Regions from separate parts of the Homo sapiens genome. Here region 1 is linked to region 2. The links are contacts of gene promoters, found by promoter capture Hi-C in blood cells and fetal thymus (Javierre and others, 2016). All regions are on one chromosome and are shown on one strand. Each heading gives the region's core, a stretch centred on a gene start or on the middle of the fragment in contact. The rest is flanking DNA. Distances are from core to core; before and after follow the strand shown.

Region 1 (4,144 bases), core at 981-3,480, 470 kb before region 2:
GAGTGAGACCTCTGTCTTAAAAAAAAAAAAAAAAGACAAGTTCTGTGCTAGATATGTGTATTGTGAATATTTTCTCCAAATCTGTAGCTTGCCTGTTAATTATCAGTATATTTTGATAAGCAGTTTTTAACTTTAATAAAGTCCAGTTTATCAACTTTTTCTCTCAGTTCATGCTTTCTTCTGTCCTCTCAAATTAATCTTTGCCTAGGAATGTATTTCTCCTATAATTGCTTGTAGAAGCTTTATAGATTTAGCTTTTATGCTTCATCTTGAATTAATTTTTGTGTGGTGTGAGGTAGGGGTTGAGTTTTTTTTCACATTCATTTATTCAGTTGTGCCAGCACTAATTGTTGAAAAGCCTTTCCTTTTCATATTGAATAGCCTTGCTGCCTTTGTTAAAAAAAAAAGAAAAATCAATGGATTCTCTATCTGTGAGTCTGTTTCTGGACTCTATTTGAGTTTGTTGATCCATTTTTCTGCCCTTGTGCTGGACCTCACTGTCTTGATTACTGTACCTTTTGAGTAAGGTTGAAAATCAGGTAGAGTGAATCTTCTTTTTAAAGATTAATGATGTTATCTATCGTAGGTCCTTTGCTTTTCCACATAAATTTTAGAATTGGCTTGTCAATTACTGCTGAAGGTCTCTTGAGACTTCAACTGGGATCCAAATTTTTCCATAAGTCACTTTATAAAGGGTTTCAGGAGGCTACCTGGCTCCCCTGTCCCTGGCTTTGGTGCCCTACCCTGCCAGTTTGGCCCAAGCTCCAGGCTTGGCACTCTGAAAGTCCCTGAGTGGCCACCTTCAACTATCCTTCCTGCTAATATCATTTCCTGAAAAATCACTATTTCACCTAGGACATTGTCCTTTAATAGAAACCGGCCCAGAGAGAAGGCTGGGGTATCCAAGAGCCCAGAACCCCACGCTTATTGTGACAGTGCAATCTAGTCCTAGAGGTAAAGAAACAAGAGTCATTGCCTGGGTTGAAATGTTATTATCTCTGGGATTTGCTTCAAAATAATTGAGGGAGAGCAAATGGTAAAATGGATGAAACAAAATTGGTTATGAGTTGATCATGATTGAAACTCGTGAAGGCTGCAGAGGGCTCATGATATTATCAGCTCTACCTTTGAATGTTTGCAATTTTTATGGCAAAAATTTAAAAAATATACCCTCTCCAATGAGTCAACCTCCTCCCTCCCCTCCCATTATTTACCCCAAGCCAGGGCCTGGATCCTGCTGCTCTTTGGTTAATGACAACCCCTTGGCCATCTGCAGCGTCCCCAGTGGCCACTCTGTCCCCATGCCCCGTGCATCACGGAGCAGATGCTGACCCTGTGGGGGCGTGACCTGGCTGTGCAGTTGGCCGTATCTGGGCGTCTCCTGATGTGGAGTCGGCAGGTGGGTTTCCACATCACCTCAAATGATTTTTAAGCTGATTGAACTGGAACAGCTGCCACCCACAGCCCAAGGCAGGGCCCCAGGCCAGCCCCAAGCAGCGACAGCCAGTGTGGCTGGACACCGAGAGCAGGGAGGGGGTTGCGGGAGAGGAGGTCGGAGAAGGGGGGCAGGGAGGGGAGCAGATTGTGGAGGGCTTTGGGGTTGTGGCTGGCCTTTGAAGTGAGGTGGGCCCCCTGGAGGAGGGCTTGGAGTGAAGAAGCAGCAGTGTCAGCCCTGTGTTGTGAGAGGTGCCTGGGACTCATGCATAAATTGCTGGATGGAGGCAGAGAGATAGGTAGGAGGCTGCCCTGGCCATCCAGGTTGACTGTGACTGACACAGGCTTGCACTAGGGTGGCAGTGGTGGAGGTGGCCTTTTGACCACTTTTGTGGTCTGGTTGGGGATGAATGTCAAGGGAATTGCTGATGAGTTTCCTTATGGGTTGGAGGTGAGTTGAGGGAGAAGGGGAGGTGTCAAGAATATCTCCCAGGTTTTGGCCTGAGCAGCTGGGACAATGGGGTTGCCATGGAGGAGGGTTTAGGGAGGACAATCAGGAGCGTGGCTGTGGCCATGTCAGGTATATGGTGCTCAGTGCACAGTCACAGGGAATTGTGGACCGGGCCCCTGTGTGTGCAGGCTTGGAGGCAGGGGGAGGCCAGGGCTGGAGGCTAAACTCAGGGACTCAGCCATGTGACGGGATTGGAAGACATAACACAGGAAGGGGCCACCTGAGGAGTGTGTGCAGCTGGAGGTGTCTGAGGCCTGAGCCCTGAGCACGTCGGGGTTTTAGGATGAGAAGAGGAGGAACCAGCAAAGGAGGCCAGGGAGGATGGTCAGAGAGGTGGGAGCACAACTGAGAGCATCTTGGAAGCCAAGCAGAGGCAGTGTTTTCAGGAGGAAGGTGCGAATGACCATGTCAAGTGCTGGCTAGAGGACAGATATGAGTGGATTGGGCAACAAGGAGGTCAGGAGGTCACTGGAGACCTTGACCGAGGGCACTTTGGTGTGGTAGCAGAGTGAAAGCCTGGTAAGACTGGGGGCCAGAGAGGATGTCGGACCCCTCCTCCACCCTCTCAGCAGTTATTCCAAACTTTTCCTATGTCCCCAAGGATCCCCTCTCCCCACCCCTCCACTTGCTCTCTGGAATTTCATCTCACAGTTAATGGACAGAACAGAAGGCACAGATCAGAGCTCCTGCCTGCCTCTGCCAAACTTGCACGTCTCTTGGACTCACAGCCTCTGCCCTGCTTCCCCTCGGCCTCAGGAGAATGGGGGTCTCTGCTCCTGAAGGGCGCTGCCTCTGCCTGTGCCCACACCCCCATTTCATCTCATCTCCCCAGAAACCCCCTCCACCGAGAGCCCTCCTCTTCTGGGGTCCCCAGCCGCCTCCCCTTCCCTGGCACATCCTGCCATGAAACCTTATGCTGTCCCATCTCTTAAAATTTCCCTGGGAGCAAATTTCTCATTTCATCAAAGCTCTCAATTTCCTTACTCTGCCAACTTTCTTAAAATAGTCTATATGGGATCTCTTCGTGGGCTCATGGCCTCACCCTGGGGAGGGCGGTGGGGGTTGCAGGTGCTGCCCCTGAGCTCATTTCCCCCAAAGTGACACCTTTTCAGACAAGAGGTGCACAGAAAGCACCAAAAAGCAAGGCTAGGCTTAGAGATCTACTCCCTTGACAGTGAGTCTGGCTCTCCACTGCACCCTTCACTCACTGCAATCTAACTTTGTTTCCTGCGTCTTCATTGAAGACATCTAGAACAATGCTTCCTGCTTCCTTGCTTCCTCTTGCACTCCCACGGGGCATGGCCAGGGCTGGGCCACACTGCACCAAATAGAGGAGGCTGCATGAGATGGGAGGGTGTCTACCCGGGATGCCCCCACAGAGACCAGAACTGCCCGCCACGGTCACAGCCTAAACTGATCTGGCTGCAGCAGTTTGTAAAAATGCACGGGTTAAGGTGAGAGATTCTTAAGCAAGGCTGTCAATAGGGCAAAGGAGGTGGTGGCCTTTTTGGTGGTGCTGGTTGCATGGATGCAGGCGAACACCCAGGTTTAACAGACTCTTGCAGTACTAGAGTTTGCACCAAAGAAGGAAGCTGGGTGTCATCCCTGAACCAGGGGTGAGCCAGGGAGGAAGCAGCTGGGGTTGCAAGTCCAGAGCCCTGACCCTCAGCCTCATTACCCATACACCTCAAATTGAGGCCTCCTTCCCTGCTCAGCCTTCTCCCCTTCCCTGGAGGAGGCTGGGGCTGCACACAGCACACTGCACCCCGAGCTCCAGTCGGGAGAGAGGAGTTGAATATTCAGTATCTGGGGAGACAATAAAAGTCCCAGGAAGAACCTGGCTAAGGCAATTACCTCTGCATAAATGCATATATTATTCATCCGTGGCTTTGAATATATAAATAATACTGATACAATTTGCATGTGTTAAAAGGAGATGTAATTACCCACTGATGCCTGTGAGCGCCTGGTACCCACTGGCCACATCCCAGGCCTGCTGCCCCACCCCCAGTGGCCCACCTTTGCCCTTCTAGAGACAGAATACATCGCATATGGGTTTTCTGCAGTTGTAAGGAAGCCAATCTTGAATGTCCCTGGGGGTTTGGCTGGACGGTGCTTTTTCAAGAACCTGTGGGCTGCTTTGCTGCCCGACTCTGTTCTGGAAACTTTGGGCTATTTTAATATGATTATAATAATAGT
Region 2 (4,018 bases), core at 127-2,626:
GGAAGGAGAGAATGATCAAAGATGGCGGTGCCCAAAAGCAGCAGCTCTCAACTGGAGAGTCGAAGGAGTAGCTCCGACCCCCACCTCGGGGGTCTCCAGGCCCACTGCGGGGCGCAGCGTCTTACCTGTTTTCTCTTTGATCTCACACAGGACGCTGAAGAGCGCTGGTTTCATTCTGTGACAGTTCAGGGCATGTTTCCTAAAAAACAAATAACGAAACACAAAGGTATTAGCATCACCTATGGAATAATATGGCGCCTTCCTTTAAGTTAGACCCAAGATTTAATTCCAGCCCCCCATTCTGGAAGGCCCTTTTGAACCGTGGGAAGTCAACAAAAACTCCAGTTGACTAGTTCCCGACAGCCAGCAAGCCCCGGCGGCGAAAGCTGCAGCCGGAACAAGGCGGACCCATCTGCCCGGCAGGCAGCAGCCTCGGCCACTGCAGACGCGACGCGAACCCGCGCGGGGAGCCTCGCCCCGGGGGCAGGCGAAGGCGACCCGGGGGAGGGGACGGGTGCGGAGGGGCTCCCGCGTCCGCTCCTGTGCAGAGGAGGCCGGCCGACTGCGGCCAGCGGGAGGGTGACAGCTCGGCAAAGTTTGCAAGGCGGCCCTCCCTCTCCGAGAACTTGGCCGTCCGCACCCGGACCCGCCAGGGAACCGCCCATCGCCCCGCGCCGGGCCCGGGTGGCCGCCCGCATCGCGAGGTCGTCCCGCGGCCGCGGGAGCCGGCGCCGGGACTCCCCGCCGGAGGAGAAAGTTACACTTCCCGGCGGCGCGGCCCGCACGGGGTCGGGGCGGGAGGTTTAAATCCCTGGGAGGGGGCCGGGCTGCGAGGGGCAGGACGGGGGAAAGGACGCCACGGAATCCGCGCCGCACCGAGTCCGTCCCGAGCCCCCCAGAGCAACTTTGCCGACTCCCGCCCGCTTCGGGGGGCGCGGGCAAGTCCCCCCGAGGCCGGGGCGGGCGGCCGGCTTTCGGAGAAAGTTCCCCGCCGGGGGCTGCGGCCCTAGCCCCGGGCGCCACCCCGGGCCTCGACTCGGCCGCGGGCCCGGCTCCCGCACACACACAAAAGATGCTTAATGAGACGACACCAACTTTGCTTGCGCCTCGTCCAAGCTCTGGTCGGTGATGGTCATGATCTGGTGGAGGATGTCGCCGATGTCCTGCTTCCTGCCGTCGCCGTCCGCCCCTTCGTGGCCGTGCGGGGGAGGCGGCAGGGCCATGCCCCCCTGCACCGAGTGGCCAGCCAGGTTCACCCCGGCCAGAGTCTGCAGCATCCTGGATTGATCGTCCATCCCGCCGCGCGCGGGCGGGAGCGGGCGGCGGCTGAGGCGAAGGCTGAGGCGGCGGCGGCGGCGGCGGCGACGAGGGAGGAGAAGAAAGAGGGGGAGGGGGAGGGGGAGGCGGCCGCGCGCTCCCCGCCCGCGCGGGGAGGGGGCGGCCCGGCCGGCAGGGCCCGCGGCTGAGGCGATGAGGACGGGCGCCCGGCTCCGGCTTCCGCCGCCGCCGAGGCTGAGGAGAAGCGGCGGGCGGAAGCGCCGGGCTCCGCGGCGGTGGCGGAGGCGGAGGCGGCGGCGCCCGCTGCCCTCACGCGGCCGCCGCGCCGCCTCCTCGCCGCCGCGCGCCCCGCCGGGCGGCCCCGCGCAACTTGCTCCTCAGCGCCCGCCGAGTTGCCGGGACGCCCGCCGCCCCCCGCGCCAGCCTGCGCACTGCCCTCCTCGGCCGCCGCCGCCGCCTCGGCCAGGCGGGATCCGAGCCCCGGCGGCCCCGGGGGAGGCAGCGGCGGCGGCGGCGGGCGGCGGCGGAGGAGGAGGCCTGCGGGCGGGCCGCGGGGAGCGAGGGGGGGCGGAGGAGGAAAGTTTGGGAGCGGGCGGGCAGAGGCGGCGGGGGCGCTGAGCCCGGAGGAGGGCCCCGGCGGGCCGCGCGCCGGGCGGACAGCCGATGGATAGGGCGGGAGAAGTCGCCGCCGCCGCCGCCGGAGCCGCGCACCCAGCCAGCAGCCGCCGCGGACCGGGCTGGAAGGCCGCTGGGCCGAGGGATTGACAGGCTGCCAGTGCCACTCACTCACTGCGGCCCCGCGCCGGGGGGAGGGACGGGGGCTGGCAAGGGCGGGGGAGCGCTCCTCAGACCCCGCCCCCGGGGCGGTGCGCGCGCTCATTGGGCTCTGCGCCTCCCGCCGCCGCCGCCGGCACCGCCCCCGGGGCCCGGCCCGTTCCCTCTGGCCTCTGATACTCCGCGCTCCGGAGTGTGCCGCCGGATCCTCGCTCCAACCTCGTCGCGTCCTAGCCCCCCGGGATAGACCGGGCCGGCCCACAAACGGTGTGCCCGCACCCCGACTCCTGCTCCATGCTTTTGGCAGTCATGGGAGCGGGGGGTTGTGTATGGGACAGTGGGCAACTCGCTGCAAAGCCAACCGTGTGCTCCCCCGCCGCGCCCGTGAGCTTCACGCCTCGGACAGCTCCTGGTGCACTTTCCCGCTCTTCCTGTCAGGAGGTGGTGCCCTCTGGGTACCAGGCCGCTCGTCCCGGGCCAATCGCAAAGCGCTTAGAGCCGAATGGGGCGGGACAGAGGCAAGAAAGGGTCGTCCCAATTGGAGCGTTCGAAAGGTTCTGGGCAGAGGCGGGGAAGCGGCGAGTGGGGGCCTCGCCCCGCCTGCGGTCGCCATGGTAACCGAGAGGGCGCAGCTCAGCGTTGGCGCCAGCACCGGGGTCTTGTGCTGTCCCTCAATGGGTGACCAGTTAAGGTGGGAACCTGTGGTCTCACATACTTGAAGTCTGAGCTGAGTGGACCTGACTGCCATAGACTTTCCATTGAAAGGGGAAATGTGTCAGAGAGAAGCGAGTCTGGGAGGAGGGAAAGTGCCTTCAGTCCAGGACTAATTTCAAGGTTTACAACACTTTACACACTCTGCAACTCCTGATAATCCAGGGACTACTCCTTTGGCAGCGTTTGCTATTCGATGCCTCCAGATGTACTGAAGCTGCAAAAACGAGCTCTTCATTACAAAGATACGTTTGTTTAGGAAGAGACTGGATTTCACTTGTCAACTTACCCCATCACCACGAGTCATTTAATGTTGGTAACGCCAGCCACGATTTTTCGTATCTATAACACCCCTTCTTCCATTGAATTCTACCTACAAATAACTGAAGGCTCACATTATTTTGGAATATGGACCTCCGCCTCTTGTGGAGACTTGAGATTGCTCTTAAGCTGATTTCCCAAACAGGGGCTGCAATGTGTGTTCCCGATTTTAGATTCATTGAGCTCACCCTAGATGAGTCCTTTGGTTCGGTGGTTCGGAAAAGTCTCTTTGTTCCTTCTCCAAACTCAGTAAGCTGTCTTACCTGAAACCAAAAATAGGGGTATGAGGATATGAAAAATGGCTCTTACTCTGCAGGGTTTAATGTAGGACAAGCAGTTCTTTAAATGCCAGATGGATTCTTGGAATGAAGCAGGCTACTCGGTTCCAGGTTCTTTCCTTCATATGTTGTGTGTACTTTTAAATACTCCCCACTGCAAAGCTAATAGCTAAGCTTACAGTTAGGCAAGCTAAAATCCTTACAAACTGCACAGCTGCTGAGGAGGGAGTTCCAAAAAATCCACTCTGCTTACTTACCTCCAAAGAAGAACCCCCTTCATGTTCATTAATATTCTCTGCTCTTCTATACCCCATTGATATGTCAAGTTTCCAATTCTTCTTTGAAGCCCCCATTATGGGTTACTTATAATCGTCATTGATTGGGTTTTTTCTTTATTCTTAATTTGTTTTTTAAAGCTGTCACCAAATTCTTAAGCATTTTTGCCAAAAGGCGCAGGAGCAAGCGGTCAACCTTTCATAATTCTCCAACGCTGAGGATGCAAAACCACAGAATTCTAACTGAAAGATGCCTTAAATTCTAAGATTCCTTCCAGCTGTAAAATTCAATAATCCTGTGACTCACTATTAGGACTCCTCTCTGCCCTCCTTCTAGACTCATAATCTTGACTAATCAGTCATGAGGATGAGGCTAATTAG

The links. Contacts are between HindIII fragments. The CHiCAGO score rates a contact against its expected background, and 5 or more counts as called.
Region 1: a fragment that was not itself captured here is called in contact with the fragment with the promoter of PBX3 in region 2 in 1 of 17 cell types (megakaryocytes); the score reaches 7.8 in megakaryocytes.

Annotation. Positions count from the first base shown.
Region 1 is chr9:126,217,150-126,221,293 of GRCh38, reverse strand. No RefSeq gene overlaps it. Among named protein-coding and RNA genes, the nearest start is that of MVB12B, 110 kb to the left of the region's middle. The HindIII fragment of the contact is 3,975 bases long and covers 243-4,144 here.
Region 2 is chr9:125,744,731-125,748,748 of GRCh38, reverse strand. PBX3 (PBX homeobox 3) reads right to left here and starts at 1,376. Exons shown (of 9, transcript NM_006195.6): 1 at 1,096-1,376; 2 at 126-199. The coding sequence starts at 1,295. It overlaps PBX3-DT (PBX3 divergent transcript), which reads left to right and starts at 2,820. Exons shown (of 2, transcript NR_122032.1): 1 at 2,820-3,333. RefSeq lists silencers at 402-741, 1,012-1,541, 1,552-1,601, 1,852-2,281. The HindIII fragment of the contact is 3,823 bases long and covers 1-3,538 here.